Regions from separate parts of the Homo sapiens genome. Here all the other regions are linked to region 1. The links are contacts of gene promoters, found by promoter capture Hi-C in blood cells and fetal thymus (Javierre and others, 2016). All regions are on one chromosome and are shown on one strand. The core of a region is centred on a gene start or on the middle of the fragment in contact, and the rest is flanking DNA. Distances in the headings are between cores, read along the strand shown.

Evidence for each region. The method cuts DNA at HindIII sites, captures the fragments that hold promoters and counts their contacts. A CHiCAGO score of 5 or more calls a contact.
Region 2: a contact is called between a fragment that was not itself captured here and the fragment with the promoter of OPTC in region 1, in 4 of 17 cell types (M0 macrophages, M2 macrophages, M1 macrophages and 1 more). The highest score is 6.7, in M0 macrophages.
Region 3: a contact is called between a fragment that was not itself captured here and the fragment with the promoter of OPTC in region 1, in 10 of 17 cell types (naive B cells, naive CD4 T cells, activated CD4 T cells and 7 more). The highest score is 9.1, in naive B cells.
Region 4: a contact is called between a fragment that was not itself captured here and the fragment with the promoter of OPTC in region 1, in 2 of 17 cell types (M0 macrophages and endothelial precursors). The highest score is 6.9, in M0 macrophages.
Region 5: a contact is called between a fragment that was not itself captured here and the fragment with the promoter of OPTC in region 1, in 15 of 17 cell types (naive CD4 T cells, naive B cells, total CD8 T cells and 12 more). The highest score is 26.3, in naive CD4 T cells.
Region 6: a fragment that was not itself captured here is called in contact with the fragment with the promoter of OPTC in region 1 in 4 of 17 cell types (M0 macrophages, endothelial precursors, M2 macrophages and 1 more); the score reaches 8.6 in M0 macrophages.

What each region holds. Positions count from the first base shown.
Region 1 is chr1:203,491,399-203,496,614 of GRCh38, forward strand. It overlaps OPTC (opticin), which reads left to right and starts at 2,755. Exons shown (of 8, transcript NM_014359.4): 1 at 2,755-2,819; 2 at 4,567-4,838. The coding sequence starts at 4,608. RefSeq lists an enhancer at 62-860 and a silencer at 2,248-2,476. The HindIII fragment of the contact is 16,129 bases long and covers 1-5,216 here.
Region 2 is chr1:203,744,768-203,749,983 of GRCh38, forward strand. No RefSeq gene overlaps it. Among named protein-coding and RNA genes, the nearest start is that of LINC00260, 17 kb to the left of the region's middle. The HindIII fragment of the contact is 925 bases long and covers 1,670-2,594 here.
Region 3 is chr1:203,248,958-203,254,173 of GRCh38, forward strand. No RefSeq gene overlaps it. Among named protein-coding and RNA genes, the nearest start is that of CHIT1, 22 kb to the left of the region's middle. The HindIII fragment of the contact is 808 bases long and covers 1,884-2,691 here.
Region 4 is chr1:203,728,006-203,733,221 of GRCh38, forward strand. All of the region lies in intron 20 of ATP2B4 (ATPase plasma membrane Ca2+ transporting 4), which reads left to right. It overlaps SNORA77 (small nucleolar RNA, H/ACA box 77), which reads left to right and starts at 1,576; the gene lies at 1,576-1,700. It overlaps LINC00260 (long intergenic non-protein coding RNA 260), which reads left to right and starts at 2,572. Exons shown (of 1, transcript NR_046213.1): 1 at 2,572-3,848. The HindIII fragment of the contact is 1,248 bases long and covers 2,037-3,284 here.
Region 5 is chr1:203,267,056-203,272,271 of GRCh38, forward strand. LOC124904486 (a long non-coding RNA gene) reads right to left here. Exons shown (of 2, transcript XR_007066798.1): 2 at 59-5,216. Among named protein-coding and RNA genes, the nearest start is that of LINC01353, 17 kb to the right of the region's middle. The HindIII fragment of the contact is 1,041 bases long and covers 2,017-3,057 here.
Region 6 is chr1:203,623,539-203,628,754 of GRCh38, forward strand. It overlaps ATP2B4 (ATPase plasma membrane Ca2+ transporting 4), which reads left to right and starts at 3,294. Exons shown (of 21, transcript NM_001684.5): 1 at 3,294-3,681. RefSeq lists enhancers at 2,288-3,162, 3,163-4,035. The HindIII fragment of the contact is 359 bases long and covers 2,596-2,954 here.

The DNA of each region.
Region 1 (5,216 bases), core at 1,505-4,004:
TATGAACAGTATAAAGGAAAGGGCTTTTACCTCTACCTGAGGAAAACCAGAAAGACTCCTACCATGTGAGCTGGCTCTTAAGGGATAAATCAGATTTTGCCAGGTGGATGAAAGAAAAAAAGACGCCACCTGGACAGGAAACAGCATGAGTACAAAGGTAGGAAGGTGTGGAGTCTACCCTGTGGGGCTTGTGTGTCTGAAAAAGAGGAGAGGGTCATGTTCCGGTCATGGAGTGGAGTTATGTGGCTACAAGCCCTCAGCAGGGGATATACCCCTGTCATCCAAAACACAGGAGGGTTCCTGAACTTCCCCGCCTCTCTCTCCCTATCCATGAAAAGGGCAACAACAGGGTTGGCTGGTCAAACTTCTGTCCATACCACCTGCCGCCTCCGATTCATCAACACGCCTTTTGCCTCTCCTAATGAGAGATTAGGATTAGGACGCCTCCCCCGCCTCCTGCTTCCTTTGCCAGGCTCTTGGGGAGCTGGGCTGCCTGGAACAGCAGTCTGCGGGGTTAGCCGTTTCCCCCACCAGGTCACATGTACACATCCATGGACAGCCCCTAATATTCATGAGAACAAGAGTGTGTGACCTGTGAGCTTGGGAAAGCAAGAGGAGAAGTTGGGAGAGGGTCTAGGATGCGAGCCTGAGTCTGGATGTGGCTCCTGCAGGGAGTGGGGGGAGCAGGTGTGTATGCATTGGGGAGGAACGATGGTGGGGGTGTGGCAACCAAGCAGGGATGGCAGGAGCGTATGTCTCTGGGAAAGCAGGGAGGGAGAGTGGGAGCAGGCGGCAGGGAGAGTGAATGAACACTCGCATTTGCATTTCTCCCAGGAATAAATGTGTGGGGTGGGAGCGGGGAGATTGCCTAGGCTGGCTGTGGGGGTGGAGGGCCTCTGGCTGCAAAGCCCAGGCTGTGGAGAGAAGATGGAGGCATACAGCCCGCCAAATGTGCCATCTGCCTACTGGATGCCCTCCAGGATCCAGGGCTATCTTTCCCTCCACCCAGCAGAGCCTCTGATGGTGTCTTTTCCCAGGTGGGGGGCTGCCAGGGGTACAAGAACATGCTCTTCTCTGGTGACCAGGCTCTTGGGCTGAGGGAAGCCCCCTCTTGCACCAGCTGGAGCCCAGGAACACAGCAAGCCAAATGCTGCCCTCGAGGGCCAGGCTATTAGATCTGCCTCTTCACCTGGTGTGCCAGGGCAGAGATGAGTTCTGCCAAGCCATCTGCTCTGAGGGCCTGGAAACACACGGATTCAGGACTCCTGGGGAAGAAGGTGGAAATGGGGAGGGTCATATGAACTAAAGAAAACTCTCTGACCAGGGAGTCAAAAAATCTAGGCATTGGCCCTGGCTCTGTGTGACCTAGGGCAAGTCACGTCACCTCTTTGGGCCTCACTCTCCTCATCTATACCACAAGGACTTGGACTAGATCTTTAGGGGGCCTCACAGCTGGAATTCAGTATCTGGTTGGTGGAAAGGAGTAGGGAACAAGGAGAGTCACTGAGAAACCTGGGTGGGCGCCAGGGCACAGGCTGGCAGAAGCTGGGGAAGACTCCTTAGCCACCCCACCTCTGCCTTCAGCAAGGACTTGCTCGGCAGCCTGCTCGAGGCACCAAGGAAAGGGGAGTGTTTCCAGATGAATGCCGTTGGCCCTCTGTATCTGTGGGTTCCACATCCGTGGATTCAACCAACCACAGATTGAAAATATTCAGAAAAAAAAAAAATTCACAACGTTCCAAAAAGGAAAACTTGAATTTGCTGTGTGCCAGTACTATGTGGAATCCATGTGAATGGAGTGAGGTGTAAGCATTGTGTTTGGTGTTATAGGTAATCTAGAGATGATTTGAAGTACACAGGAGGATGTGCGTAGGTTATGTGCAAATTCACCATTTTATATAAAAGACCTCAGCATATGTGGATTTGGTATCCACTGGACGTGCAGAACCAATCCCCCATGGTTACTGAGGGACGACTGTACATCTCTGAGGGTGCGGGAGAGGATACTTCCCAGGCCCCCGAGACCCTACACAATGTCTACTGGTGTTTATGATCCTTTCTAGGGCCCACCTCCCAATTTCCATTTGGTTTCCTCCTAGCAGATTTAGAGAATTTCCCGTATCCTCATGATCATCATCTGTGAACTTGAAGTTGGCTTTCAAATCCGATCTCATCCCCCATACACCTTCTCTTTGAACTACCTAGGCCTGCAGCTCCTGTCTCTGGTGATTTTATTCAATTATGGTCTCTGTGCTGGCGCTCTAGGTGAGGGTGAAGTGCCTCATTTCCACCTATTTTTATCTTTGGATTCTGGCTATGAAGCTGAAGCCTTGTCACTCTCTGGCTGGAGAAAGAAGCTGCAAAGACAAGCTCTATCTCTCCATATCCCCCGACTCCAGCCTTCTCTGAGGACTCAGAATCTGAGGGATGGGGCCCCTTCCTTGCAGGGGATGGCACTCCCTGTTCCTCAAAGATGTGGCCTTATCAGGAGAGTGGACAAGGAAAAGAAAGAAGGAGCTGACAGAGTAAGAGGAGAGAGAGCAGGAGCTGGAGGTGGGGGGTGAAGCGGAAGGTGGGGGGAGAATTCTCTTTTGTCAAATACAGGAATGGGGCAGGGGACCCCCTGAGGAAAGAGGAGGGGAAACAGCTGGACATCAGAAGGAATGAGAAGTCTGATTGGTCGCAGGCCTGGCCAACTCCTTGCCCTCCCCCGGGCACCACTGTCTAACCCAAGCCCCAGTTCAGACAGCCTCCACCAGAGTCCCCACCTTTCTGGAAGCTGCAGGGCTCTCCATCCAGGATCCAGAAGCATTGAAGGGGTAAGGCTCAAGGTTGAGGCCTCTGGCCATCGGTGCGCAAATGAGGGCAAAGTGTTTGGCTGGGGCAGGGGATTGGGAAGGGAAAATGAAGAGAGTTTAGGCCTCTGGCCAAAGAAGTTGGACAAGACTTTTGGGTGGGCACTAAACTCTCTTAGAAAAATTTTTTTTGAGATTATGTAATTCGTTTGGGGTGAGGTATGGGAGGTAAGGTGAAGAAACACCTCTTGCTACTGCTAGAGGCTTGCCCCCTTGCCCAGCTAAAATTAAGAAAGGGTGGGGAGGTTAACTGGGCATGGTAACACACGCCTGTAGTCCCAGCTACTTGGGAGGCTGAGGCAGGAGGACTGCCTGAGCCCAGGAGGTTAAGGCTTCAGTGAGCTGAGATCATGCCATAACACTCCAGGCTGGGCAACAGAGTGACACCGTCTTAAAAATAGAAAATAAAATAAAAATTAAAAGATAAAAAAAATTTTAAAAGAAAGAAAGAGGGAGAGTCTACTAGAAACTTGTGCAGCTAGCTTTGGGGAGGGCTGTGTTAAGCCTACACTGGGTATGACTGTTGTATACACTTATGCCTGGATACAAAACCACACCACATGCATTTCCTGACCCGTCTATACATATACGAACTACATGAACATTTGTACTCACATGCATATCACATACATACGCAGGCATCTGTGTGCACACACACACAAATATACACAGGTATCTAAGGAAATTTCCAGATGCGTACACACTCATGCAATCACACACAAAGAACTCTTTTATCTGTAATAATCTGTTTCTAAAAAGCTGCATTTAGAAGTATATTTCATAAACTAACATTCTTTTTTACATTGTATGTTTCATTGTAAGTCCATGTCTCCTAAAGAGACTAGGTGCTCCTAGGAAGGGCTGTGCCTCATTCATTCTGTACCCACAGAGACAAGTCCTGTGCCTGGAACTCAATAGACACCCATAAATGTTTGTTGAGCAAATGCATGAATGGATGATCTTTATAAAAAACCACAAGAGTCAACTGGGCGCGGTGGCTCACACCTGTAATTCCAGCACTTTGGGAAGCCAGGGTGGGTGGATCACCTAAGGTCAGGAGTTCGACACCAGCCTGGCCAATATGGTGAAACCCCTTCTCTACTAAAAATACAAAAATTAGCCAGGCATGGTGGGTGCCTGTAATCCCAGCTACTCAGGAGGCTGAGGCAGGAGATTCGCTTGAACCCAGAAGGCGGAGGTTGCAGTGAGCCAAGATCGCACCACTGCACTCCAGCCCGGGAAACAAGAATGAAACTTCGTCTCAAAAAAACAAACAAACAAAAAGACCCCATAAGATTATTTGATGTTGACATTCTCTAAATCGAGCTTAGTGACTAGCAGTCATGTTCTGAGCATGGGGTTGTTTAAGAGAGGACATCTGTGTGCATGCACCAGTGTGTGCCTCGTTTGTAAACAAGGGGACTCTTGTGAATGTGTCTGTGTTGAGATGTGTCTGCACATGCCTCTGTGAGTGAATATCAGTGTTTGGGTGAGCGTGTAAAAACACTCAAGTGGGGCGGTGGAGGGAGGGGGCTGCTAGGAGATACCCCCCAAGACATAGTCCCAGCTGGTAGGGAATTTGTGCATGTGATGAGAGCACTGAGTCTGCAAGTGTGGGGGTGGGAAGTGGAGTAAATCTGCGAGCCATTCCCACAACACTCTGGAGAGCCTGTCCCTCAGATCGCTGCCCTTCCTCGTGCCCACTTGCCAGGACCAGCCGCTGAAGGGATTCTCAGTCCCATCTGACTCCCCATGAGGCTCCTGGCTTTCCTGAGTCTGCTGGCCTTGGTGCTGCAGGAGACAGGGACAGCTTCTCTCCCAAGGAAGGAGAGGAAGAGGAGAGAGGAGCAGATGCCCAGGGAAGGCGATTCCTTTGAAGTTCTGCCTCTGCGGAATGATGTCCTGAACCCAGACAACTATGGTGAAGTCATTGACCTGAGCAACTATGAGGAGCTCACAGATTATGGGGACCAACTCCCCGAGGTGAGGGACACAGCAGACCAACTACATTCCCTGCATGACACTGGGAGTCAGAGGCCAGGGCCCTCCCATCTGCCCCAAAGTGCGGGTGTCTCCAGCCTCCACCTCTTTCTCTGTGAGGTGGAAATTCTTATCCCTCCATAGGGACTTGTCACTTAGATGATACTAAGAAACAGGACACAAACCTGGGACTTCTCCTTCTTCAAAACTCATACTTGCCTCCCCCTGCCAAAGCTATGTCTCACTGGGGGAGGGGTTCGCAATGTCCTCATCATATTCTCTAGGAAATAAAAGTGCCACATCCCCCATCTCTTTTCTGAAACTGTCCTCCAGTCTGAAGTTCTTTCCCAGGTCCTCTTGGCCTTCACTGCAGCAGCGTGG
Region 2 (5,216 bases), core at 882-3,381, 250 kb after region 1:
GCTTGAGCCCAGGAGTTCAAGTCCAGCCTGGGCAACATGGCAAGACCCCATCTCTAAAATACACACACACACACACACACATCATAAGGAGGAAAGGACCTTGTCCACTCCCCAAATTCCTTTAGGAAAAGCATGACATTGAAGAACGCCCCAAACTCTCCTGGCTATTTTAATAGTCTGGCTCTGAAAGAGGATCTAGCCCTGGTTGAAAAAGACTTATGGCCGGGTGCAGTGGCTCACGCCTGTAATCCCAACAGTTTGGGAGGCCAAGATGGGTGGATCACCTGGGGTCGGGAATTCGAGACCAGCCTGACCAACATGGAGAAACCCCATCTCTTCTAAAAATACAAAAATTAGCCAGGCATGGTGGTACATGCCTGTAATCCCAGCTACTCGGAGGCTGAGGCAGGAGAATCACTTGAACCTGGGAGGCAGAGGTTGCGGTGAGCCAAGATCACGCCATTGCACTTCAGCCTGGGCAACAAGAGTGAAACTCCATTTCAAAAAAAAAAAAAGAAGGTCCGAGCGCAGTGGCTCATACCTATAATCCCAGCACTTCGGGAGGCCAAGGCAGGCGGATCACCTGAGGTCAGGGGTTCGAGACGAGCCTGACCAACATGGAGAAACCCTGTCTCTACAAAAAATAAATTCAGCCAAGCGCAGTGGCTCATGCCTGTAACCCCAGCACTTTGGGGGGCCAAGGTGGGCGGATCATGAGGTCAGGAAATTGAGACCATCCTGACTAACACAGTGAAACCCCATCTCTACTAAAAAATACAAAAAACTAGCCGGGCGTGGTGGCAGGTGCCTGTAGTCCCAGCTACTCGGGAGGCTGAGGCAAGAGAATGGCGTGAACCTGGGAGGCGGAGCTTGCTGTGAGCCGAGATCATGCCACTGCACTCCAGCCTGGACAACAGAGCAAGACTCCGTCTCAAAAAAAACAAAACAAACAAACAAAAATACAAAAATCAGCCGGGCGTGGTGGTGCATGCCTGTTATCCCAACTATTCAGGAGGCTGAGGCAGGAGAATCACTTGAACCTGGGAGGTAGAGGTTGTGGTGAACCGAAGTCACACCATTGCACTCCAGCCTAGGCAACAAGAGTGAAACTCCATCTCAGAAAAGAAAAGAAAAAGACTTAAATGATCTGAGATCTTATCCCCACTTTTCTTTTCTGTCCTAGGTTGCTCTCCACAGGCATTGAACACATTGCCCACTTAGTTTCTTTAAAATAGGGGATGGAGAATAAATAATGAACTTAACAAACAAAAATGAAAATAGGCTGGGCACAGTGGCTCACGCCTGTAATCTCAGCACTTTGGGAGGCCGAGGTGGGTGGATCACAAACTCAAGAGATCGAGACCATCCTGGCCAACATGGTGAAACCCCATCTCTACTAAAAATACAAAAATTATCTGGGCATGGTGCCATGCGCCTGTAGTCCCAGCTACTCGGGAGGCTGAGGAAGGAGAATTGCTTGAACCCAGGAGGCAGAGATTACAGTGAGCCGAGATCGCGCCATTGCACTCCAGCCTTGCAACAGAGCAAGACTCCGTCTCAAAAAAAAAAGAAAGAAAAGAAAGTCTGCTTTTTCCATTGTAGTTTCCCTCCTAAATACTCTTGCTGAAAAGGATGTAACACATATGAACCCCTATACGGTCCTTTCTAAAGCTTGGCCCTCTATTTCTTCTCTCACCCCCACTTTGTGTTTGTTGGACCATAGATCTGTGCCTCTCTGCCATGCCAAACAGAGGATCTTAAGGATCCACGTCTCTTAACCCCAGGATATGGTAAGGAATGGTGAAGAATGAACCTCCTACGTATCATTCTGGCAGAGACCACTATATCCTAAGGTGTTGGCTCAAGAGAATGTAAAGGCCAGCTCAGCAACTTGGACCTAGGTCACTGTATGGAAAAGAGCATACTCTGTTCTTCCATTCTTTTCCCTTACCCCAGTTCTAGAAAAGAATAATAGCTTTGCCTTCCATCTTTTCTTTTTCTTTTTTTTTTTTGAGATGGAGTTTCACTCTTGTTGCCCAAGTGGGAGTGCAATGGTGTGATCTCGGCTCACTACAACCTCTGCCTCCAGGGTTCAAGCAGTTCTCCTGCTTCAGCCTCACGAGTAGCTGGGATTACAGGCGTGCGCCACCATGCCCGGCTAATTTTTTGTATTTTTAGAAGAAACGGGGTTTCACCATGTTAGCCAGGCTGGTCTCGAACTCCTGACCTCAGGTGATCCGCCTGCCTTGGCCCCCGCAAAGTGCTGGGATTACAGGCATAAGCCACCACGCCCAGCCTGCCCTCCATCTTCAGTAATGGTTTGTGAGTCTCCCCTTTCTCCACTAGTCCATATCGTCTCCCTGCGGTCATCAGTTTGAAGCTCTCTACCAAGCCCACCTGGTTCCCCCAAAGTATACACATGACCAGGCAACTCCCTGACCTACTCTGTGGTGAATCCAAAGAAGATGACTCCTTGGGTTCCAGTGAGATATTTACCAGCCCCTGACCTGGGTTTGTTAAAGCGTGGCCTTCTTGTCACTACAAGCAGGAAGGAGAATGAGAATGGCATGTCCTTCACCAACAAATAATTGTGAAGCTTTGTTGTAAATAATACATGTAAACATGTTACCATTTCTGTGCAGGATCATTAACATCCAGTTACCTCCACCATGAACCTAAGCCATGAGAGGTACTGACCTATTAGATTCATAGACAGAAAGCTTTCAGCTTGAAAGGTAGCAGCTTCTGGGTTCTGGGCTTGCCTATGTCCTGATGTACAACCAATCATAAACAAGTCTTTACTTCTCTGACTCTTTTCAAATAATACTTTCCTGGCCCAGCATCATCTCCCTGTCCTCAGAAGACATGCACAAAACAGAGATCAGTCTCTTTAGAATGGCCTCCCGCTGCCTTCTAAAAGGCTGGTGGCAAAACAAGAATGCTAGCTCGGAAGGCAGTGGTTCATGCCTGTAATCCCAGCACTTTGGGAGGCTGAGGTGGGCGGATCACCTGAGGTCAGAAGTTCAAGACCAGTCTGGCCAACATGGTGAAACCCTGTCTCTACTAAAAATACAAAAATTAGCTGAGCGTGGTGGTGTGCACCTGTAATACCAGCTACCCGGGAGGCTGAAGCAGAAGAATCCCTTGAACCCAGGAGGCGGAGGTTGTAGTGAGCCAAGATCACGCCACTGCACTCCAGCCTTCCAACATAGGTGACAGAGCAAGGCTCCATCTCAAAAAAAAAAAAAAAAAAGAATTGAAATAATCTACATATTTGGATAGCCAGATTACAATCAGAAATTTAACTTCTGCTCATGAACTCTACGCAAAGGGGAAATAATAGAACTGTCTGAGTGGCTAGTGCCATTACACTCACAGGGCATATATCTGTCCCTACTCCTTTTTTTGTTTTTGAGACAGGGTCTTGCTCTGTCACCCAGGCTGGAGAGCAGTGGCATGACCAAGGCTTACTGCAGCCTTAGACTCGGCTCAAGTTATCCTTCCATCTTAGCCTTCCAAGTAGCTGAGACTACAGGCATGCACCACCATGCCTGTAATTTTTTTTAAGAGATGGAGTCTTACTATGTTGTTCAAGCTGGAGTCAATCACCTGGCCCCAAACTATCCTCCCACCTCAGCCTCCCAAATGTTGGGATTACAGGCATGAGCCACCATGCCTGGCCTGTCTCTACTTTAGAATAGAACTGGGCCCTGTGTTCAAGCTTAAGCATCACTTGATTTCTCTGGTGTCTCCTATAACAGAGGACATATAGACCATCTCCTTTTAGCACATTCTTTTTCCAAACACAGCACAATTGATTTAAGCTTTCTTGCTATGCTAGACCCAGGAAGACTGCATTGAAAGACTGATTTGTGTTTTATAACTCCAGATCTTCATGTCTTCACCTATTTAAAGCAAGTATATATGATAACTCATTTGAAAGAGGGAGTAAGGCTGGGAAGAGCTGGACTGGTACCTACAGATTGCCTTTAACCATGCTTAAGAGAAGAACAAATATATCCATGATCATCCAAAACCCTTTATTTAAGTCAAGAATTCCTGCATCTGACCAGCCTGGCCAACATGGTGAAACCTCATCTCTACTAAACTTACAAAAATTAGCTGGGCATGGTGGCTCATGCCTGTAATCCCAGCTTCTCTGAAGGCTGAGGTGAGAGGATCACTTGAACCCAGGAGGCGGAGGTTGCAGTGAGCTGAGATTGCACAACTGCACTCCAGCCTGGGTTACAAAGATAGATCCTGTCTCAATAAATAAATAAATAAATAAATAATAAAAATAAAAATAAAAAATTCCTGCTGGGCGCAGTGGCTCATGCCTGTAATCCCAGCACTTTGGGAGGCCAAGGCAGGCAGATTGCCTGAGCTCAGGAGTTCAAAACCAGCCTGGGCAACATGGCAATACCCTGTATCTACTAAAAATACAAAAACTTAGCCAGTCGTGGTGACAGGCACCTGTAATCCCAACTACTCAGGAGGCTGAGGCAGCAGAATCACTTGAACGTGAGAGGTGGAGGTTGCAGTGAGCCGAGATCATGCCACTGCACTCCAGCCTGGGCAACACAGCAAGACTCTCTTTCCGAAAAAAAAAAAAAAAGAGAGAATTCCTACATCTTTCCTATCAAACCTTTTGAATTGAGCTGCTGCTGCTGACCGGGTAGGAAAGGAAGGCGTTTAAATGTTTCTCTGCTTACTCTTTGATCGAGGAGCTAAAATGGCAAAATTAGAGTAAGATTCTGATGTGCAGCTGATTGGAAGGCAGGAGACACATGCCCTGACCTCAACTCTGCTTCTTGACCAGCTTGATTTCCCATGTGTACAAGGAGATCATTAAAGTACATCATTTTCAAATTACATTTTGAAGATCAGAAAGGAACTCCTGAGAGATAATTTAGGGTCGACAGGCGTTCAACAAAAATAGCACATTTTTAAAACGTTTTTGGGCCAGGCACGGTGGCTCACACCTGTAATCCTAGTTCTTTGGGAGGCCGAGGCGGGTACATCACTTGAGGTCAGGAGTTCGAGACCAGCCTGGCCAACATGGTGAAACCCTGTTTCTACTAAAAAAAAAAATTAGCCAGGCGTGGTGGCACATGCCTATAGTCTCAGGTACTTGGGAGGCTGAGGCTGGAGGATTGCTTGAACCCAGGAGGCAGAGATTGCAGTGAGCTGAGATTGCATCACTGCACCCCAGACTG
Region 3 (5,216 bases), core at 1,038-3,537, 240 kb before region 1:
TGTGTTCATACTTGCTTCACAGCTCAATGAATGTATAGTAAATTTTTGTCAATGTTTCATGGATGTTTGAAAGAATGTGTCAATTAAGTCATTTGTTAATAGTGTTATTTAATATTTTATATCCTTACTAATTTTATACTTGCTTAAACCATCTATTATTGAAAGAAGGGTGTTAAAAATCTCCCATTATGGGCCCCACTCATGCCTGTAATCCTAGCACTTTGGGATGCCAAGGCAGGTGGATCACCTGAGGTCAGGAGTTCAAGACCAGCCTGGCCAACATGGCGAAACCCCCTTTCTACTAAAATTACAAAAATTAGCCGTGGTGGTGCACACCTATAACCCCAGCTACTTGGGAGGCTGAGGCAGGAGAATCGCCTAAACCCAGGGTGCAGATGTTGCAGTGAGCTGAGATCGCCCCACTTCAGCCTGGGCGAAAGAGCAAAACTCCATCTCAAACAAACAAACAAACAAACAAACAACTCCCATTATGATTGTAGATGCATCTATATTTCCTTGCAGTTCAATCCATTTTTTTAAATTAAATAAACTCCATGCTTTACTTGTATTTCACTGTTTTCTCCCTAATGTCGTTTTTCAATTCAGGGTCCCATCTAGGATACCACATTACATTTAGTTGTTGTGTCTCCTTTAGCCCCCTCTTGTCTGTGACAGTTTCTCAGACTTTCCTTTTTACCTTTTCCAATACTTTGAAAGTTTTAATGAGTATTAGTCAGGTATTTTGTAGAATGTCCTTCAATTTTGGCTTGTCTAGTGTTTTCTTCATGGTTAGATAGGGGTTCTATGTTTTGGGGAGGTAAACCACAGAGGTGAAGTGCCATCCTCATTACATCTCATTAAAAATGTAGGTATTATCTGCTGGATGCAATGACTCACACATGCAATCCTAGTACTTTAGAAGGCCAAGGTTGGGGGGATCACTTGAGGTCAGGAGTTCGAGACCAGCCTGGCCAAGTGGATTCATAGGCAAATTCTACCAAATGCCAAACTTTCTCAAATTCTTCTAAAGAATAGAATAAAAATCTCACCCCAGGCTGGGTGTGGTGGCTCACGCCTGTAATCCCAGTACTTTGGGAGGCCAAGGCAAGCAGATCACTTGAGGTCAAGAGTTGGAGACCAGCCTGGCAAACACGGTGAAACCCTGTCTCTACTAAAAATACAAAAATTAGCCAGGCATGGTGGCATGCACGTGTAATCCCAGCCACTTGGGAGGCTGAAGCAGGAGAATCGCTTGAACCCAGGAGGCAGAGGTTGCAGTGAACAGAAATCTTACCACTGCACTCCAGCCTGGTGACAGAGTGAGACCTTGTCTCAAAAAACTAAAACTAAAAGGTAGGTATTATCCACATAACTGATCTTTTTAATCTTGATTACCAGGCCGGGATACTATTTGCCAGGTTTCTACTTCTCCACCTGGCTTCCCTATTCTACTCTTTGGAAGCGAGTCAGTAAGTGCAGCCCACACTCTAGGGGTGAGGAGTTAAGCTCCACTTCCTTGGGGAAGAAGCAACTACATACCTTTATTATATAATTCTGTATGGGACATTTGTCCCTTCTCTCCCATTTATTTACTATATCATTTATTTATATCCATATGGACTCATAGATATTTATTTATGTTTTGAGTTATAATCAAATACTATTAGTACATTATTTATTTTGCTGCTCAAATTTTTCCAGCTTTGGCCACCGAGAGCTCTTTAATGTTGGCTTGTTTCAGTCAGCATAAAGTTTTTGAGACTCATCCATTTTGTTGTTATCAGTAGTCTGTTTCTTTTAATTGCAAGAAGTATTGTATTTTATGAATATATCCCACTTCATAAACATTGGGTTATTTCCAGTTTTGGCTATCAGAAATGCAAAGCTTCTATGAACAGTTATGTATACGTCTCTTCGTGGACATATGTTTTCATTTACTTTGAATAAATACACAGGTGTAAAATTAGAGTCATCAGCTAGCTTTATGTTTAATAAGAAGCTACCAAGCAAGCAACTTTTCAAAGTAATTGTGCCATTTCACACATCCAAGAGCAACGTGAGAGTTTTTGTTATGTCAAATGCTTGCCAACATGTGGTGTTGACAGTCTTTATAATTTTAGACATTCTAGTAGGCATGTAGTGATTCATTATGGCTTTAATTTGCCTTTGCCTGCTGAGTAATGATGTCGAGCACTTTTTTTATATGTCTTTGTCCATTCATATGTCTTTGTTTGCTTCTGAAAATGTTGCTCAAGTCTGTCATCCACATTTTTATTGTGTTAGAAGTTCTTTATTATTCTGGATAGAAATCCATATTCAGATATATGTACTGTGAATGTTTTCTACCAGCCTTTGGTTTTGCCTGTTCGTTTTCTTAGCTGAGTCTTTTTTTTTGTATTGTGGTAAAAACCACACAACATTAAACCATCCTAAACATTTTTAAATGTACATTTCAGTACTGTTAAGTATATTCACTTGTGCAACAAGTCTCTAGAAATTTTTCTTCTTGCAACACTGAAACTCTATACCTACCAAACATGAATTCCCCATCCCACCTCCCGCAAGTTCTTGGCGACTACCTTTTTACTTTATGTTTTGAGGATTCTGACTTATTTAGATACTTTATATGAGTGAATTATACAGTATTTGTCCATTTGTGACTGGCTTATTTCACTTAGCATAATGTCCTTAAGCTTCATTCATGTTGTAACATGCCCTTTTTTAAGGGCACATAAAATTCCATTATGTGCATATACCACATTTTCTTATCCAATTACCTGTTATTTCCTCCTGTTGGCTATTGTGAATAATCCTGCAATGAACATGGGTGTGCAAATATCTCTGAGATCTGCTTTGAAGCTTTTTGGCTATATACCCAAAAGGGGGATTGCTGGATCATATGATAGTTCTATTTTTAATGTTTTGAGAAACTCCATACTGTTTTTCATAACATCTGTATAATTTACTTTCCCACCACCAGTGCATGAGGACCCAAACTTCTCTGCATCCTTGTCAACACTTGTTATTTCCTGTTATTTTTATAATGGCTATCCTGATGGGTGTGAGGTGATATCTCATTGTGAGTTTTATTTACATTTCCCTAGTGATTAATGATGTTGAGCATATTTTCATGTACTTAATAACCATTCATATATCTTCTTTGGAGAAATGTCTATTTAAATCCTTTGCCAGTTTTTAAATTGGATTATTTGGGGTTTTTCTTGTTGTTAAGTTGTACAAGATCCTTATATATTCTGGATATTGACCCCTTATCAGATATATGACTTGCAACTCTTTTCTCCCATTCCATAGGTTGCCTTTTCTCTCTGTTGACTGTTACTTTGATGTGTAAAAAAACTTAAGTTTTATGTAGTACTATTTGTCTATTTTTTATTTTGTTGCCTGTGCTTTTGGTATCATATCCAAGAAATTATTGCCAAATCCAATTGTTGGCATATAATTGCTCATAATGGCATTTACATTTTAAGAAATTGCTGATAGTGAAGGACTTACTGTTGCCATTTTGTTCATTGTGTTCTGTTTCACTTGTAGCTTTCTTTGTCCCCCCCCCCTTTTTTCTTTTGATAATTTCTTTTGTGTTTCATTAATTTTTTTTTGTGGCCACAGATTTTGATTCCCTTCTCACTTCCTTTCCTTTACAGTCTTTGTCCATTTTCTGTTGCTGTAACAGAATACTTGAGACCAGGTAATTTATTTTTTAAAAAGAGGTTTGTTTAGCTCACAGTTCTTGATGCTGGGAAGTTCAAGATCAAACAGCTGCATCTGACGAGGGTCTCATGCTGTGTCATAACATGGAGGATGGCATCACATGGTGGTTATGCATGTGAGAGCACTGAGCGGGTACACACACAAGAGAGAAAACATGAGGGGTGACCTCACTTTATAACAACCCACTCTTGCGGTAACTAATCCAGTCACTGAAGAGCAATAATTCACTCCTGTGAAATGGCATTAATCCCTTCATAAGGACAGATGGCTTATGACCCAAATGCCTCTTAAAGGTCCCACCAGTTCTCAACACCATTACATGGGGAACAAGCCTTAACATGAATTTCAGTGGGGGATAAACCATATTCAAATCATAGCACTTACATTCTATAGTTACTGTCTTTGTGGTAACCATTGCAATTACGTGAAACATAACCTCTTAATGTTTTAACAATCTACTTTTAATGAGTACCATGTGGTGGTTTCCTGATTAAAGCCCCTTAATTCAGAAAAACTGCTTGCTTGCTTACTTGTTTGCCTGTTCTCTTACATAGGTGTGTCTCCATAGATAAATTAGGGGAAAATCTGTCCCTTTGTATTTCAAAAAGGGCAAAGAAAATTGTAATTAGATTTCTCCATAGACACACTCTTTCCTCCCTGGGGGAAACTAATAAGAAGAGGGTATAACACTTTCCCTAGCTAGAATTCCCTACAGAAGTTTGCCTTTGGACTGCAAAGAAAACGGCTCTTTCATTCTTAATCATCAGATAAGTAATTCAGTACCACTGGGACAATTGTAGATTCAGATCTTTTGGCAGAAGACTGGAAGAATATGGGTAATATCATAACAATCTATTTTAAGCTGATAACAACTTAGCTTCAATTGCATCTAAAACTCTGCTTCTTTACATCTCAGTCCACCCCACCTTTATGTTACTGATGACTCAAATTACCTTTTTTATATTGCATATCCATTACCATAGATTTATAATTACTTTCTATGCTTTTGTTTTTTGAATTCTATGAGATTTAGAAGAGATTTACACACATTACAATACTACAAGATTCTATATTTATCTATATATTTACCAGAGAATTTAATATTTTCTTTTTTTTTTTTTGAATTGCATTTTGTCCCTTTACCTCAACTTCAGGGACTCCCTTCAGCATTTCTTGTAGGTCAGGACTAGTGGTGATAAACTCCCTCAAATTTTATTTATTTGGGAAAGTTGTAATTTCATCTTTGTTTTTGAAGGACAGTTTTGTTGGATCTAGCATTCTTAGTTGGCAGGTTTTTTCTTCCAACACAGGCATATCTCATTTTATTGCACTTTATTTTATTGTGCTTCACAGATATTACATTTTATACAAATTGAAGGCTTGTGGCAACCCTGTGTCAAGCAAATCTTTTGGCACCATTTTTCCAATAGCACATGCTTACTTTGTGTCTCTGTGTCACATTTTGATAATTCTTAAAACATTTCAAA
Region 4 (5,216 bases), core at 1,411-3,910, 240 kb after region 1:
GCCATTATAGGAATAGATGCTATCTGGAAGGGTCTTTGTAAAAGAAACTCACCTTGTTATATCTCCCCCATTCAAAGTGTAAGGCCATGGTGGGGAATCTGATGGTTTCATGTGTAAAAATGACAATAGTCTCTTGATGTCTGAGCATCTTTTGCAGGATTCAGACTTGCTTCCTGACAAGGAGGAAGCAATAATTTCTTCAAGCCTCTTCCCTTCTTGCAATTTCTGAAATGGGATAGAAGCCACCCCTGCTGCTCTTATGTCCCCTGTCTATAGCCCCACAATAACTTTTATTTTTTCCACTTTCCATGCATCAATTGTAACTACTTTCTCCTGGGTGAATGCGCTGATCTAAGCATTGATAATTCTGTCTTCCCCTGCTCTCACCCCCCATAGCTTTATTGTTTTAATCCTGAGATTTTCCATTTCAAAAACACTGTAAATTCCAAGATCTCAAGGGTGGTCTCCAGAAAACAGGCGTATTTCTCTCTGCTGATTGGCTAGAGATCTTCAAAATAAGTTTCACTGTCTAAAACTGGCCTTGCAAATGTTTTAGAAAGTTCCCCAGTCGGCCAGGCATGGTGGCTCACGCCTGTAATCCCAGCACTTTGGGAGGCCAAGGTGGGTGGATCACCTGAGGTCGGGAGTTCAAGACCAGCCTGACCAACATGGAGAAACCGCGTCTCTACTAAAAATCCAAAATTAGCCGGGCGTAGTGGCACATGCCTGTAATCCCAGCTACTCGGGAGGCTGAGGCAGAAGAATTACTTGAACCCGGGAGGCAGAGGTTGTAGTGAGCTGAGATTGCGCCATTGCACTCCAGCCTGGCCAACGAGAGCTAAACTCTGTCTCACAAAAAAAAAAAGACTGGGCGCGGTGGTTCTCACCTGTAATCCAGCACTTTGGGAGGCCAAGGCAGGTGGATCCCCTGCCTTAGGTGAAACCCCGTCTCTACTAAAAATACAAGCCAGGCATGGTGGCACATGCCTGTAGTCCCAGCTACTTGGGAGGCTGAGGCAGGAAAATCGCTTGAACCCAGGAGGCGGAGGTTGCAGTGAGCTGAGACCACACCATTGCACTCCAGCCTGGGTGACAGATTGAGAGTTGTCTCAAAAAAAAAAGAGAAAGAAAAGAAGTTCCCCAGTCAATCCCACCTCGTTAGTGTATAGGAGAGATAGATGGAGTGAATATTCTAAACTATATACCTGGTAGGAACTTATCCCCTATAGGCAAGACAACAAATAGAAAAGTGGAAAAGAGGCCGGGTGCGGTGGCTCACGCCTGTAATCCCAGCACTTTGGGAGGCCGAGGCTGGCAGATCATAAAGTCAGGAGTTCGAGACCAGCCTGGCCAACATAGTGAAACCTTGGCTCTGCCAAAAATACAAAAATTAGCTGGACGTGGTGGTGGGCGCCTGTAATCCCAGCTACTCTGGAGGCTGAGGCAGGAGAATCGCTTGAACCCGGAAGGCTGAGGTTGCAGTGAGCTGAGATCGCGCCATTACACACCAGCCTGGGCAACAAGGCAAGACTCTGTCTCAAAAAAAAAAAAAAAAAAGAAGAAGAAAAGTGGATTGCAGACTCACTATGCACCTGACTGTACTTCCAGGCAGGTGCTTTTTCTGTCTGCCAGAGAAACATTCCAGGGTGCTGTGGCTGCCTCACCTATCCAGGGCGATGCAGCTCCCTGGGGACACAGGTGCTTCCTGGGGAGCCCTGAGCACTTCTCCGTGTTGCTGGCCTCACATCCAATTGGGCAGGCATTGGAGTCCGGGCACTGCCTGGAGCTCACCAGAAGGTGCTTTACAGTGGTCCTTGGTTTGTCTCTCAGAGGGCTTGGTCCCCTCTGCTGTGAGGCTGGACTGCAGCTGTGGTGGCAAGTGACCAGATGTCACTGAGCAGCCTGACCATGGTCTAGGTGGTGCTTGGATGCATCCACTTGGCTTCCTTTGGTCATTGAGTTTCAAGAAGAGAAACTCCAGGAGACGGCTTGGCCAGGATCAGGCAAAAACAATCATGCCGAAAAAGTGGCAGAAAAGCTTGAAGGTCTCTCAGTGAAGGAGGAGACCAAGGAGGATGCTGAGGAGAAACAATAAATCGTCTTATTTTATTTCCTTTTCCTCTCTTTCCTTTCCTTTTTTTAAAAAAAAATTTACCCTGCCCCTCTTTTTTGGTTTGTTTTTATTCTTTTGTTTTTACAAGGGATGTTATATGAAGAGCTGAATTAAAAAAAAAAAAAAGAAGAAAAAGAAAAGTGGAAAAGGGCTAGGTAGGGAAACGCTAGGGTTCCTTTTCCCTCTCTCAAGTTCCTCCTCTCAGAAAGAAAATTTCCAGCGGGACCTACACAAAGTGCCTCGTGGCATCCAGGCATCCAGAATCCCCACGCTCACTCCCTACCCCACCCCACACTCCAGGCTGCTGACTCCAAGTACCCATAGAACCTGGCGCCTTTGGCTCCCATCTCTAAAGCCCCCAGTGCTTTCCTTTGGGTCTGCTCTTTCCAAAATAACCTGTCTTTGCTTTGTTTTTCTTCAGGATCAACCACTTCTACTATGTGATTTCTTTTCTCCTAGCCAAGATTCCCTCAGTCCAGTACCTCCTTGCTCCTTTCCAGTCTTCTGTCCTGGGAGGCTGAGATTTATGGGTCTTCCTTGCCCTCCACTACCAATTTCTATTTCCTTGACTATGCCCCTCTCTACAAGGTCTTTTTGGTTTCACTGCCTACATAGCTTTAGGTATACTACCTTTCCGCATTGTTGGAGCATGAGGCAGTTGGGCCAAAATGGCATTAAAGCCTAAAGTGAGGCATGTTCAAGATGCCACAGTGACCAAATTCACGCCATCCAGGATGCACCTGACTCTGGAAGCTGATGAGGCTAATGATGCTAACGTGTATCCTGGATCCCTGAGGTCCGCTCCCAACATCAGCCCTTCAGCCTCAGCTGGGTTCTAACAAAACCCCCTGCCACCTCCACGTTGATCTTTGTTGTCATTCTCATCGCAGTGCTTTGGTATGGGAGGTGTTAGAAAACTTAGAGACTAGAATTGTGGAGGTTGGGACCTTGTAACTCCAATAAGCACTGAAGAAGGTGTCTCTACAGTCCCTTCTTCCATGGAGCTGGAACCCCCGCACCCACCCCAAGTGTAAACCCTCTCCTCCTGCAGGTTCAAGCTCCTCAGTCCCAGGGAACTAAAACTGAATAATGTGAGGAAGCAGTGATGTTTCTGCTCAAACTGTGATCTGGATCCAGAAACTAGCCCTAAACAGCTCATGGCTTCTCAGGAAGCTTTATAAAAGGACTGTCTCACTCACATTCTGCCTACTTTCCCATCTTCCCTCCTGGGAAAATGAAGTCCAGTTAATGGAATCAGCACCTTTCCTTCATTCCTGGTAGATTAACCCTTGGCATTAAGCAGATAGATATTTCTAAGATTATTCTACCAGATTCATGAAGGCTAAAGGGAATTCCTTTTGATTTTGTCCTTGTTACTTAGGGGTCAGGGATAAGGATGGTAGAGTTGATTGAGGCCCTAGATCAGGACCATTGTCAGAAAATGAATGGCATGGCCGGGCGCGGTGGCTCACACCTTAATCCCAGCACTTTGGGAGGCTGAGGAAGGCAAATCACAAGGTCAGGAGTTCGAGACCAGCCTGGCCAGCATGGTGAAACTCTGTCTCTACTAAAAATAAAAAAATTAGCTGGGCATGGTGGCAGGTACGTGTAGTCCCTGCTACTCAGGAGGCTGAGGCAGGAGAATGGCTTGAACCCAGCAGATGGAGGTTGCAGTGAGCCAAGATCGTGCCATTGCACTCCAGCCTGGGTGACAGAGCGAGACTCTGTCTCAAAAAAAAAAAAAAAAAAAAAGGAAGGAGGGAGGAAGGAAGGAAGGAAGCTGGGCACAGTGGCTCACGCCTGTAATCCCAGCACTTTGGGAGGCCAAGACCGGCGGATCACGAGGTCAGGAGATTGAGACCATCCTGGCTAACACAGTGAAACCCTGTCACTACTTAAAATATAAAAAATTAGCCAGCCTGGTGGCGGGTGCCTGTAGTCCCAGCTACTCAGGAGGCTGAGGCAGGAGAATGGCGTGAACCCGGGAGGCGGAGCTTGCAGTGAGCCGAGATCGCACCTTGCACTCCAGCCTGGGTGTCAAAAAAAAAAAAAAAAAAAGGAAGGAAGGAAGAAAATGAATGGCATTAATTGCCTCTGTCTCTGAGGAACAGGGCACTGAAAACCAGAGGCTACTTGTGTAAGCCTCGACCTGTAGCTGTTTCAACCACCACCAACCAAAACCTCTTCCTCCCCCTCCCTCAGTCTAATTGCCGAGTTACTGTCAGCATTTCTGCCAGACATTTCAGATCTCTAATGCATTAATGCACTTAGTAGCATTCTCGATAGTGGGCTTGGCCACTGGGTTCTTGAGCTCCATTCTCAGGGAGCCTACCTACTTCAGCCCAGGGAAGGGATAGCTCAGACAAGATACCCAGAGGAGGATGAGCCCAGCAACTCATGGCCCAGGGGTCTTTCCATCATGGCCATTTGTATATTGGCTACTAAATGGCCCCTGTTTTTTATTTAAACACATGAGTTATTTTCCTGGAAAATCCGCAAAAATACGTAGTCGGTTTAATTGATTTAGAGGTTCCTGAGCCTTCAAATTCAGTAATACATAATTTGCCTTCAGAATCTTCAATTGTTTGCCTTATTTTTAAGAGTACAGGTAAAAAGGGGCCTGTAGGTGGAGGTTGCAGTGAACCGAGAGTGTGCCACTGCACTCCAGCCTGGGCGACAGATTGAGATTCCATCTCAAAAAAAAAAAAAAAGTACAGGTAAAAACAACGAACAATCGCTGTCTAGCTGTTAGGAGTGATGGAGTAGGGAAAAGTCCCTTTACATTTTAAATACTCTTGGCCCCCTCTAAACCTCAAATGCCCACTGTGGATTCAAAGGGAAGAAAAAACTAGATTCTGGCTGGGCGTTGGGACTCCATGGCAAATTGTTCCCTAAGTGAAGTATGATATGCAATTAACGTTTTTCTCCTTCTCCTCACCATTGCTTTTTGTGGGAGGGAAGCTCTCTCTTGCTCTCTCCTGTCCCCTTTTCCCATCTACTTCCATTCCTGCTTCCCCAACCTTCCATGACCCTCCCTTCCTCTTTCTTCACCTCTCTCGGACTGACTGTGGAGCAAAGCTGTCTCACTCTCTGATTCTTTGCA
Region 5 (5,216 bases), core at 1,287-3,786, 220 kb before region 1:
CTCTTTCTTTGCTACCTCCCAGTTTTTGTCAAAGTAAATTGTGATACAAAAACCCCAATTTATAATCATGAAATATTTATTATATTTAATTTTAATAATAATGATTAGTTTCATATTATATTAATTATAATTATTTCGTTCATTTAGTTTTATTGATTTGATTGTTCTTTGCCTTTTCTTTTACATTTTTTCTGTTGAATTATTTATTTTGATTCGTTTCTTAGCTGGCAGGACTATGTCCTCAAGTACTATTTTTCAAAAAGGGCTTATAGAAGAGCTCTCCCATCCTCAGTGGAGTTGGCTAACATCCTGTACCAGTTACCAGTTTATTACTCTCTGGCTCCAAACGTTTCTCCCTTGCCAGCGGGCACAGTGTTAAACTGTGTCAGTAGAGGGCGCTAGAGGACAGAGAGAAGAAGAGACTTCTCTTGCGGTTTCTTTAAGCTTTCCTTCCTACTTGCTTTCGGGACTCTGAACCCCCGGGGTTCTCAGCTCAGTTTCAGGGCACTTCCGCAGGCATCTTCACGGCTAGTTCTGTGGGTGTCCCACTTAGTTTCCCAGTGGCGAGTTCAGCCGCACCGTCTTGGGTGGATTCCTGGTGGAGCCGACTTGACCCAGCCAGTTTCCTGCGAAGTCCCGCATGCGCACTTCCCCGGGGGCAGCTTCCCAGCAAGTTCTGCGTGAGTCCTAGGTGGCTTTGCCATGAGTTCAGCGCATCCCCCAACAGCAACTTCCGGAGGAATTTTGTGGGCACCCCAGCAGGGGGCTTCCAGCCCCTGAGCCGTGGCCTGCCGTTCTCTTCCCCACAATGTTCGCTCTCTTGACTGTGGCCCGGTTCTGTCCAGGGACAACCCAGAGAACTCTTCTGCCCTCAATGGGCTGCAACGCACTTTCTCCAGCAAGGACTGAACCCCAGTCTCGGAGAGCTAGGCTTCTTCACGTTCGTTCTTTCTTTTTGGGTTCTCCCCCACCCCTGCGAGATCATCTAACATTCCTCTTTATTCCCACTGCACCATTAATTTCTATCCTGACTGATTCACAACCCCGAGTTCCGAAGCAAGGGCAAGCTGTGGGGCGCTTCTTGCCGTCTCTACTCAAAACGGAAAAAGCTGGCCAGGCGCGGTGGCTCACGTCTGTAATCCCAGCACTTTGGGAGACTGAGACAGGAGGATCGCTTGAGCCCAGGAGTTCAAGATCAGTCTGGACAACGTAAGGAGACCCTGTCTCTTCAAATATATATATATATATATATATATATATATATACACACACACACACACACATATACATATGTGTATATATACATATATATGTGTGTATATATATACACATATATGTGTGTGTATATATGTATATATGTATATAATTATATATGTATATATGTGTATATATACGTATATAATTATATATACACACATATATGTGTATATATGTAAAATTAGCCAGGCATGGTGGTACGTACCTATGGTCTCAGCTACTCAGGAGGCTGAGGCAGGAGGATCGCCTGAGCCCTGGGGTGTTGAGGCTGTGGTGAGCTGTGATGGTGCCACTGCACTCCAGCCTGGGGCAGGGACTGAGACCCCATCTCAAAAAATAAAAATAAAAAGAATGGAAAGAACCAATGAAATCTTGATGCTATTAACACCTCTGAATATTTCACTGGTTTCTAGAATCCACACAAAACAGGAATCCTACAGAATGATGGCTTGCAGAGGACATTGTAACAGGGCAGTCAAACCAGTTGGAGAAGTGTGCTCTGTCCTATAAAAACGTGCTCCTTCCTGACGTCTACCCCATGTTGGTGGGCCCATGATCTCCTCCTAGACCTCTCAGCTGAAATCAGTCCTGTCCCTGTGTTTGGTGTCCTTCATACCCTCTCGTGGCTGCCTCCCTGCCACGGCCCTGGCTCAGGCCCTGGTCACCTTGCCTAGGGTAGTGGCTTCCCTGGGAATGCCATCTCCACTCAATACTCCTTCTGGTGCTAGAGTGCCCTGCTCAAGGCCTCACCTCCCACGAAGCTTCCTGAACAGCTTAACTCACTGTTTCTTCCTGTTCTGCCCTCTCCTATTATCTGTGCAAATCTGAAGGCACTTTCTGCTCTGTCATGTACCTGATCTTTCCTGCCAGCCTAGACTGCTTTGATGAAAACTGCATCAGATAGCAGAGGAAACACTTATTTGTATGGAAGTGGCGTCCTCTGCTGGTAGAAGTATGTAATGACTGGAACTTTTCCCTAGCTGTGTAAAGGACCCTCACTGCCCAAAGCTGAGACAACCAGTGATACCCAAGGAAACCCAGCTGCCCTTCTCTCTGCCCACCCCAGTCCCTAAGCATGTAAAATTCAATCCACTGACTCACTCACCAGATTTCCACACCTCACTATTACACTAAGATGTTCCTGATGCTCCAGTCTCATGGATAATGGCAATCTTTAACATTAATTGGATATGCACTGTATATGCCAGGCACTGGGCTAATCTCTTCATCTGTATTATATTATTTAACCCTCATAGCAACTTTGTACGGCAGACAAGTGGACCAGATTCCTTAAAAGCAGAGCCTGGGACAGATTTCATGCATATCTTCTTCTGTTGGGGAAGAACCCTCAGAAGAAAGAAAAGGAAGGAGAGTGGGGTGGGGAAGGAGGGAGCCAGGCTGTGGTGTCAGCTGTGGCTGAGCTGCGGCCTGATTTCATGGGGATCCCTGAAGCATGTGCTACACCAGAGTTCATCTTGTCTTGAGGTCGGGGACTGGCCTTTCCTGCCCCTGTGTCAGACAAGCATCGGCTGCAAGCCCCAAGTAAGGCAGCTTCCATTCCCGGGGAAGTCTCTGCAGAGGGAATAACTGTGAACTGTTACCAGCCAAACCTCACAGCAGCCGGTGGGCAGGGATGGAGGGTTGCACCAGACCAGTAAAGGGGATTTGGCTGGGCACTAATAGCAACCATGGTACTGTTATTTCTACTGTACAAATGCAGAATTATAATCTTCCAGGTTTGTAGATACTTTATAGATTTTGAGTGTTTTCATATTCATTACCTCATTCAATGTTACAGTAAGCTTGAGAGGTAGTGATCATGATCCCCACTTTATGAATGAGAGTGAGAAGTGGGAGACTTCCTCAGGATTGTCCAGCCAATAAATACCTTCTCTGTTTATAAATAGCGTCTTCTCAGATACATAGGCAGCTGTATTGGGTCCCAGTCCAACCTCTTCCCTGTGACATTCAGGCTCTGGTCGTTTACCAAGGATCTTACAGCCCTTTTAACTCAAAAGAGCCATGAAGCTGGCAACCTTCCTTGCTGAGACTAGGTACGAGGATACACCTCCTATCAGGTGAGGCCTTACCTTGCCTGCCTGACACTTTGCTGGGCTCAGAATGCTTCTCCAAATTCCCCCATGGAAAGAAGACACCCGGGCACTTCTCACCTGCTCCTGCTTCTGCAGTTCCCTTGGCAGTTTCCTTAGAGGTGTCCCAGCAAGCTAGAGTCTGTCAGAGGACATTGAGGGCCAGGCCAGAGAAGTTTAGAAAGAGTCCCAGGACTACCTGAGCACTGCCTTCACCTGCCACAGGGGTAGCTGTGCAGCCAGTCTTGTGGCAGAGGCTGGGGTTTCCTGGATCTTAGAAGTGTCACCTCTTCCACCCTCTCAGGGCCCTGGACTTTCGCCCTCAAGCTGCCTCTGGATCTAGCAAAGGCCCTGAGCCATCTTTGGAATGGATGAGTTCGAAAAGCTGCATTAGAGTGGCTCCCCTCCTTCAACGCCACCTCATCAGAGTTCTAAGGGATGCTTCACACCTAAGAGCTGATGAGGTACAGCAGGAGCACACAGGGGACCCAGAAACCTCGCATTGTGTTGAGAAACAGCTGACTGACTCAGGTTCAAATCCCCCACTCTATCACAGGGCATCTCAGTTAAGATGAGGTAGAAATGAGAGTAACAGAAAATTCACAACAGCAGCAATTGTGTTGTTATTGAGTGGCCCTTGCCCTCATGGTACAAGGTAGCACCTGCCTACCAAGTAGCAAAACAGAGGGAGGGACAAAGAAGAAGGAGCAGACAGCAGATGCACAACCTGTGTCTTAAGAAAGGTTCCCAGACACTGCTGCATAACGCGTCTACTTACTTCTCTTTGGCCAGAACTCAGTCATGTGACCACGCCTACCCACACAGGAGACTGGGAAATGCAGTCTTCATTCTGGGCAGCCATGTTTCCTGCTACAACTTTTCTTACCCTGATAAAATAGTAGAAAGTTATTGGAGACTAGCAGCTTCTACCACACTAGATTCTGGCCTCGGGCAAGTCTCATGGCCTCTCTAGGCTTGGAGATAATGCTATCTTACAACAAACAATTTGTATTAACTGAAGCCTCCGATGCAAAGGATCTAGCACAGAGCCTGGAATATACTATGCACAACCTCCCCTTCTCTGTTCCTGCCTCCAGATATTCTGAAGTGTGTGGCAGTAGCTCAAGTGCTCTCAAATGTGGCCACAGTTCCTGCAGCCCGTGTCTGAGTGCTTTCTCTATGCAAACTCACAGGATCACCCTGTAACTTCTTACCAGAACTTCTGAACCAGACCTCAGGGTAGTAGAGTAAGTCACAGTGACATTTAAAGAAGAAATAATGCCACTATCACACAAACGATTTACTCCGTGGAGTCCATGCATTATCCCATTCCATTCCTGCACAACCCCAGGCCATAAGAACTATTATCCTGACTGACAGATTTGGAAACTGAGGTTCAGAGAAGTTAAGCAGCTTGCCCAAGGTGACAGATAGTAATTGGCTGAACTGGGATCAGATCCCGGTCTATCTGGCTCCAAGTCCTTGTCCTGTAATCATCATGGTACAGCAGTGAGGGGTTTCCCTGTATGAGGCATCTACTCACTGCCCAGTGATGGGAACTATTGTTAAAAGATCTCAGGCACACAAGAGAATCAGGGAGGAGTGGGCCCATGAAGGAAGCCTTTTCCCAGGTGAGGAGACTTAGCTGAGCTTTGGGGCCTGTGTGAGACACTGACTACAGTTGTTACCAGGCAGGCAACCTAAGAAGACGCCTGGAGCCTGGAGACATGATGGGAGTCATAGCCTTGGACTTGCCTACACACTCCTCATATTGCCCCAGCCTCAAGGGCAGACCGCCAGGACCAGATGGGAGTGGGGACAGCCCTGGCCCCTGGCCAACAGCTCTGAAAAGAAAAAGTTTCTTTGTAA
Region 6 (5,216 bases), core at 1,525-4,024, 130 kb after region 1:
TCTTACCTTTCCAATAATAACCAGCTATGAAAGGGTATCATTTCCCAGTCCCCACAAAACAGGCAGCCAAAGCAGACTTCTTCTTTATTGGGACCATACATCTGGCCTAAATTGTCATTCCCCCAAGACAAGTTTACTGAACAGTTAGGCAATGCCTCCACACACAGCCACTGCAGACGAGCTTAAAATATACTTTAATACATTTAAACAGTCATTTCAGAGACTGGCTTTCTTATGATAAAGATGCAACTGACACTCATTGGTGCTAAAATGTCATGTTGTTGCCATCCAGCAGGGAGCCTGACAAGCCATTAAATCTGCAGCTCTGTTAAGCTGATTCATTTCTTTTCCTTTCTTTCTCATGTCTTCCCCAACAATTGATTTGGGCTCCTGAAGCTGATATTTTGCTAGGGTCTACCAAAATCTAACAAGGGTGCTGTGCATTGTAGGGTGTGCCCGTAGTCCCAGTTTCTAGGAAGGCTGAGGCGAGAGGATCACTTGAGGTCAGGAGTTTAAAAGCAACTTGGGCAACACAGGGAGACCCATAATGAAAAAAAAGAAGGAAGGAAGAAGGAAGGAAGGAAGGAAAGGGAGGAGGGAAGGGAGGGAGGAAGGAAGAGAGGAAGGAAGGACGGAAAAAAGGAAGAGAAAAAGAAAGAAAGAGAAAGAAAGAGAGAAAGAAAGAAAGAAAGAAGGAAGGAAGGAAGGAAGGAAGGAAAGAAAGAAAGAAAGAAAGAAAGAAAGAAAGAAAGAAAGAAAGAAAGAAAGAAAGAAAGAAAGAGGGAGGGAGGAAGGAAGGAAGGTAGAGGGAGGGAAGGAAGGAAGGGAGATGGAAGGAAGGAAGGGGAAAGAAAGGGAGAAAGGAAGGGAAGGGAAGGGAAGGGGAGGGAAAAGGAGGGAAGGGGAGGGAAAAAGGAGGGAAGGGAAGAGGGAGGGAAGGGAAGAGGGAGGGAATGGAAGAGGGAGGGAAGAGGGAGGGAGGAAGGAAGGAATCTAACAAGGTACTAACTGTTCTTGAAATGCCCTGGGAAGGTGGGAGTGACTAGAGGAGTTGCAAGAGGCTGAAATGAGAACAAAGGTCACCTTTAGTGTCCTGTAAGTGCCTTGAGTGTCAGACAGTCAATCACTAGACAAAAAAGACCAAACAATCCATAGTTCCCATAGAGGGTGACCCTAAAATCTCCCCTTACCCCTGCAACTTTCTTCGGCTGCTGGCAGGGAGAGGCACAAGCACAGGCAGGGGCTTATTTTTTTTCTCTTGTTTTTAATTTTTTTGTAGAGATGGGGTGGGTCTTGCTATGTTGCCCAGGCTGGTCTTGAAATCTGGCCCCAAGTGATCCTCCCTCCTCAGCCTCCCAAAGTACTGGAATTACACGGATGAGCCACTGTGCCTAGCCAGGGCTTATTTTGGATTTTGTTTTCAGATGACAGCAGGCAATCTCCAGCCTCACATTGATGAACTCTGAGTTCTGAGCCCAGCCCAACCAGTCTAAAAACATTACTGGCCGGGTGCGGGGGCTCACGCCTGTAATCCCAGCACTTTGGGAGGCCGAGGCGGGCAGATCATGAGGTCAGGAGATCGAGACCATTCTGGCTAACATGGTGAAACCCCGTCTCTACTAAAAATACAAAAACAAAATTAGCCGGGCGTGGTGGCAGGGGCCTGTAGTCCCAGCTACTCGGGAGGCTGAGGCAGGAGAATGGCGTGAACCCCGGAGGCGGAGCTTGCAGTGAGCCGAGATCACGCCACTGCACTCCAGCCTGGGCAACAGAGCAAGACTCCGTCTCAAAAAAAAAAAAAAAAACCATAAAGAAAAAAGAAATAGCAGGGTAAGAAAATGAAGAGGAAAAAGAGGACCCAAATGAGAGAACATTGGGAAGGGTGCTAGTTGGACACGGGGGAAACTGGACCCCGTTTCACAACCCTGTTTCTCCATGCACATGTGGCTCTGCTTCTTGGGGGCAGAGATGACAGCAAAGAAGGACAGGGGGTGGTGTGAGCTGTTGGGTTAGAATGATAGGATCAAAGAGGCCTTTTCCCAACCCTCTGTTTAAAAGGTTGGGAAGTAGTGGCCAGTCACCTTCTTCACAGCATAGCTCATAGCTATAACCTGTGAGACATATGTCAATGTGCCTTCCATAAGCATATAAACATGAGTGTGTTTGCTGAGGTAGGTGTGGGAATCTGTCAGTCAATGAAGATATGTTGTGTGAACCAGCTGATGGTGCATGTTTGTGCTTGAAAGCCATAAAGTTCTATGCAAAATCTATGGGTGGCACTGTTGCACAATGCTAGTGGGTGTGTGGGTATGGGGGTGTGATTAACTGTTTACAGGCTGTGTATAAGTGTGCATGGATGTCTGAGTGTGTGCAAATTAAAACGGAAATATGTGCCGGAGTATGATACAAAGTACAGGAAAGTACTCGGGCTTTGGAGTCTGTCTGACTTGGTCTTGAATCGTTGGCTCTGTCATTAGCCGGATGTATAACCTTGGGCCAGACACTCAATCTTCAATTCCCTCAACTAGGAAATGAGGTTAATAATAAGTACCTTTCAAGATTAAATGAGGACTAGAAACGATACCATATAGACAAAGCTTTTGGTGTCATAGCCCACGCATAGCAGGACTCAAAAGTAAGCAGCTATTTTCATGCACTGTCAGTATACCTCTGGTGGGTACAGGGACAAGAGGGAACAAAATGTGACCTGTATATAAGGTGTAGGGGAGGACGGGTGTGTGTGTGTGTGTGTGTGTGTGTGTGTGTGTGTGTGTGTGTGTGTTTACAAAACAATTTATTCTCCTTCTCCAAGGAACCCCCTATTCAGACAGGAGCAGGAAGGTAGGAGGGGACATACAAGTGTCCACAGACACCTCGGGTTTCTGGGTCCTGGATCTAAGTGAGTAAGGGGTTGAGAGGCCCGTAGGAGCTGCAGGAAGCCAGCCGCCTGCCCAAGCTTCCTTTTTTTTCCCCTCCGCCCAGCAACCGTTGAATACCGCCACCCACATCCACTCCCCACCTCCACCCTCACCCCTCCTCCACCCCTACTCAGCTTTCTATTCAACAAGTGAGAGCAAGGGCGGGGAAGAAAGCCGACAGGGGAGAGGATTGCTTCCCTTTCTTTTCCCATTCCCCCTTAAGACGAACCAGGAAGTAACCGCAAGAATCGGGCCACCTTAACAGTAGAGTAATGGTTTGGCCTCGCGCCAAGTCCCACCTCTGTTCCAGCTCCTGCTCCTCCCCTCTCTCTTCCCGCACTGCTTGGGGAGAGCTGGTGAGCAAGAGTCTGGCCCGAGTTAGCTAGAGCTGTTGCCATGACAAGCATTTTCTTAAGAAAGCTCTGCTGTTGAGATCGTCCAAAGCTGGGGGCTGGGAGGGGGGGCACGAACTTCGTGGGGCACCATCCCTCCGAAGAGAGCAAGATCAGAGACACCCGCCCAGCTCTCCTGCACCCTTTTTCTTTCAGGAACCTGAGAGGTCCTTCCCATTGGAGGGGCAGGGGGAGGAGACCCAGCCCACTCCCCGGCCTTAGCCAGAAAGGCAAGAGAGCAAAGCCAGCGTCTCTAGCTTGGTTGCCACACTGGGGAGACTGGTGGGTGGTCACCCCACCCTACCCTCATCCATGGAAACCCGGAGGGAGAGTCCCGCCTGAAGAAACCTGGATCTTTGCTAGAAAGAGAGGTAGGCTTGCAGAGAATGAATTGACTTGTGATTTGCAAACTTTGTTTCTTTCTTTTCTCTCAATGGCTTCTAAAACTCCCCGATTTTCCTCTTTCTAGAATATTTCATGCGACTGGGTTTGGAGGATTTTTTTTAAAATATGTGTGTGTGCACAGATTTGTCAAATACTGTTTTACCTATTATCAGTTCTGAGAAACCATATAGTCGAACAAGTGATTTATCTCTCTTTTCCTAGTTCTTGTCATTCCTGGGCTATGGGGTAGGGTAATGGAGGGTTCTCTTTTTGACACCAAAATTGAGCTCTTGGAAAAAATATTTATCTCCCCTCCCTCAACCCATTCCGTTCCTGCCCTCCCCTTCCCCCCTTGGCTTGGGAATGAGACGCAGGATGGAAAACTGTTGCAAAAATATTTTCCGTGTCTGTTCCCTTTCTCGAAAGCCCAAAAGAGAGATGGAAAAAAAAAAAAAAAAGGAACCAAAGAAATCTTCAGCAGAAAGAGGGGCTGCAGCGGGAACTAGGAGAGGGGCACTTTGGGGCCATGGGGTGGAGGTGGGCTGGGAGAAGTTGGCAGGAGTGGGGAAGGAGAGTGCACGAATTAAATTTCTTTAGCTTTGCAGAGAAACCTCAGCAGTTTCTCTGTGCTGCTTGCAAAACATCCTCAGACTTTCACATGTATAATTAGCTGTGGAAAAAGCTGGGAGTTACCTCGTACCGCTGTTGTTTGAGTGTGTGTGAGCGTCCAGAACCAACTGTATGAGTGTCTCCGAGGGCACCGCCCCACACATCTCTGGTCCCAAAGGGGAGGAAGGAGAAGGGTGAATTGAAAAGTTTCCGATGTCGAGGCTGGACACTGTGGGGCTGGTGAGTGTTTGGCAGATGGGGTGGGCCACAGGCATCTGTGGAAGGATCCCTGAGCGTCTCGGGCCACTGCCTTGGCTTGCTGAAGAGCTAGGAATTAAGACTGGGATTGTCCTTCCTGCTCTCCCTTCTCTCTTTCTTTTACATACTTGGCTCGCTCTTGGTAGAGGGGGCTGCTGGCATCCTTCCCCGAGTCGAGTCTGGCCTCTTACACTCCTCCACCTCCCTGAGGGTACCCGCCGCTCTTCTCCAACTGGGTGTGGAGGGTGCAGGAGTGGCCAGCCGCATCTTGGGAGGGGAGTGGGCACTCTGCTGCCAGAGGCACGTCCCTCCTGGGCATTCCTGCCGGACTTAACAATAACTTGCAGACGTGATGCCGGCGCCTGCTGGCCGGGCAGGGGGAATGTCAGATGAAGAAATAGGCCGGTACTCAACTGAGGCCCCTGTGGAGAGGGGAAAGGAGTGGGGGAGGGAAGGGAAACAAAATCCCATTCTGCAGCGCCCCCCTCCTCTGTGTGAGGAGTCTGGCAGGGAGTCTAGAGACCCTGGCCCTGCTCCTTAAGCCCCTCCCCAAGCTGCCCCTTCTCCACGCGCTTCCCATTGGAGGCCCTACTACGCCCCCTCCACTCTGAGCCCTCTACCTGGAGGAAGGAGACCAGGCTCATTCCAGGCTGGG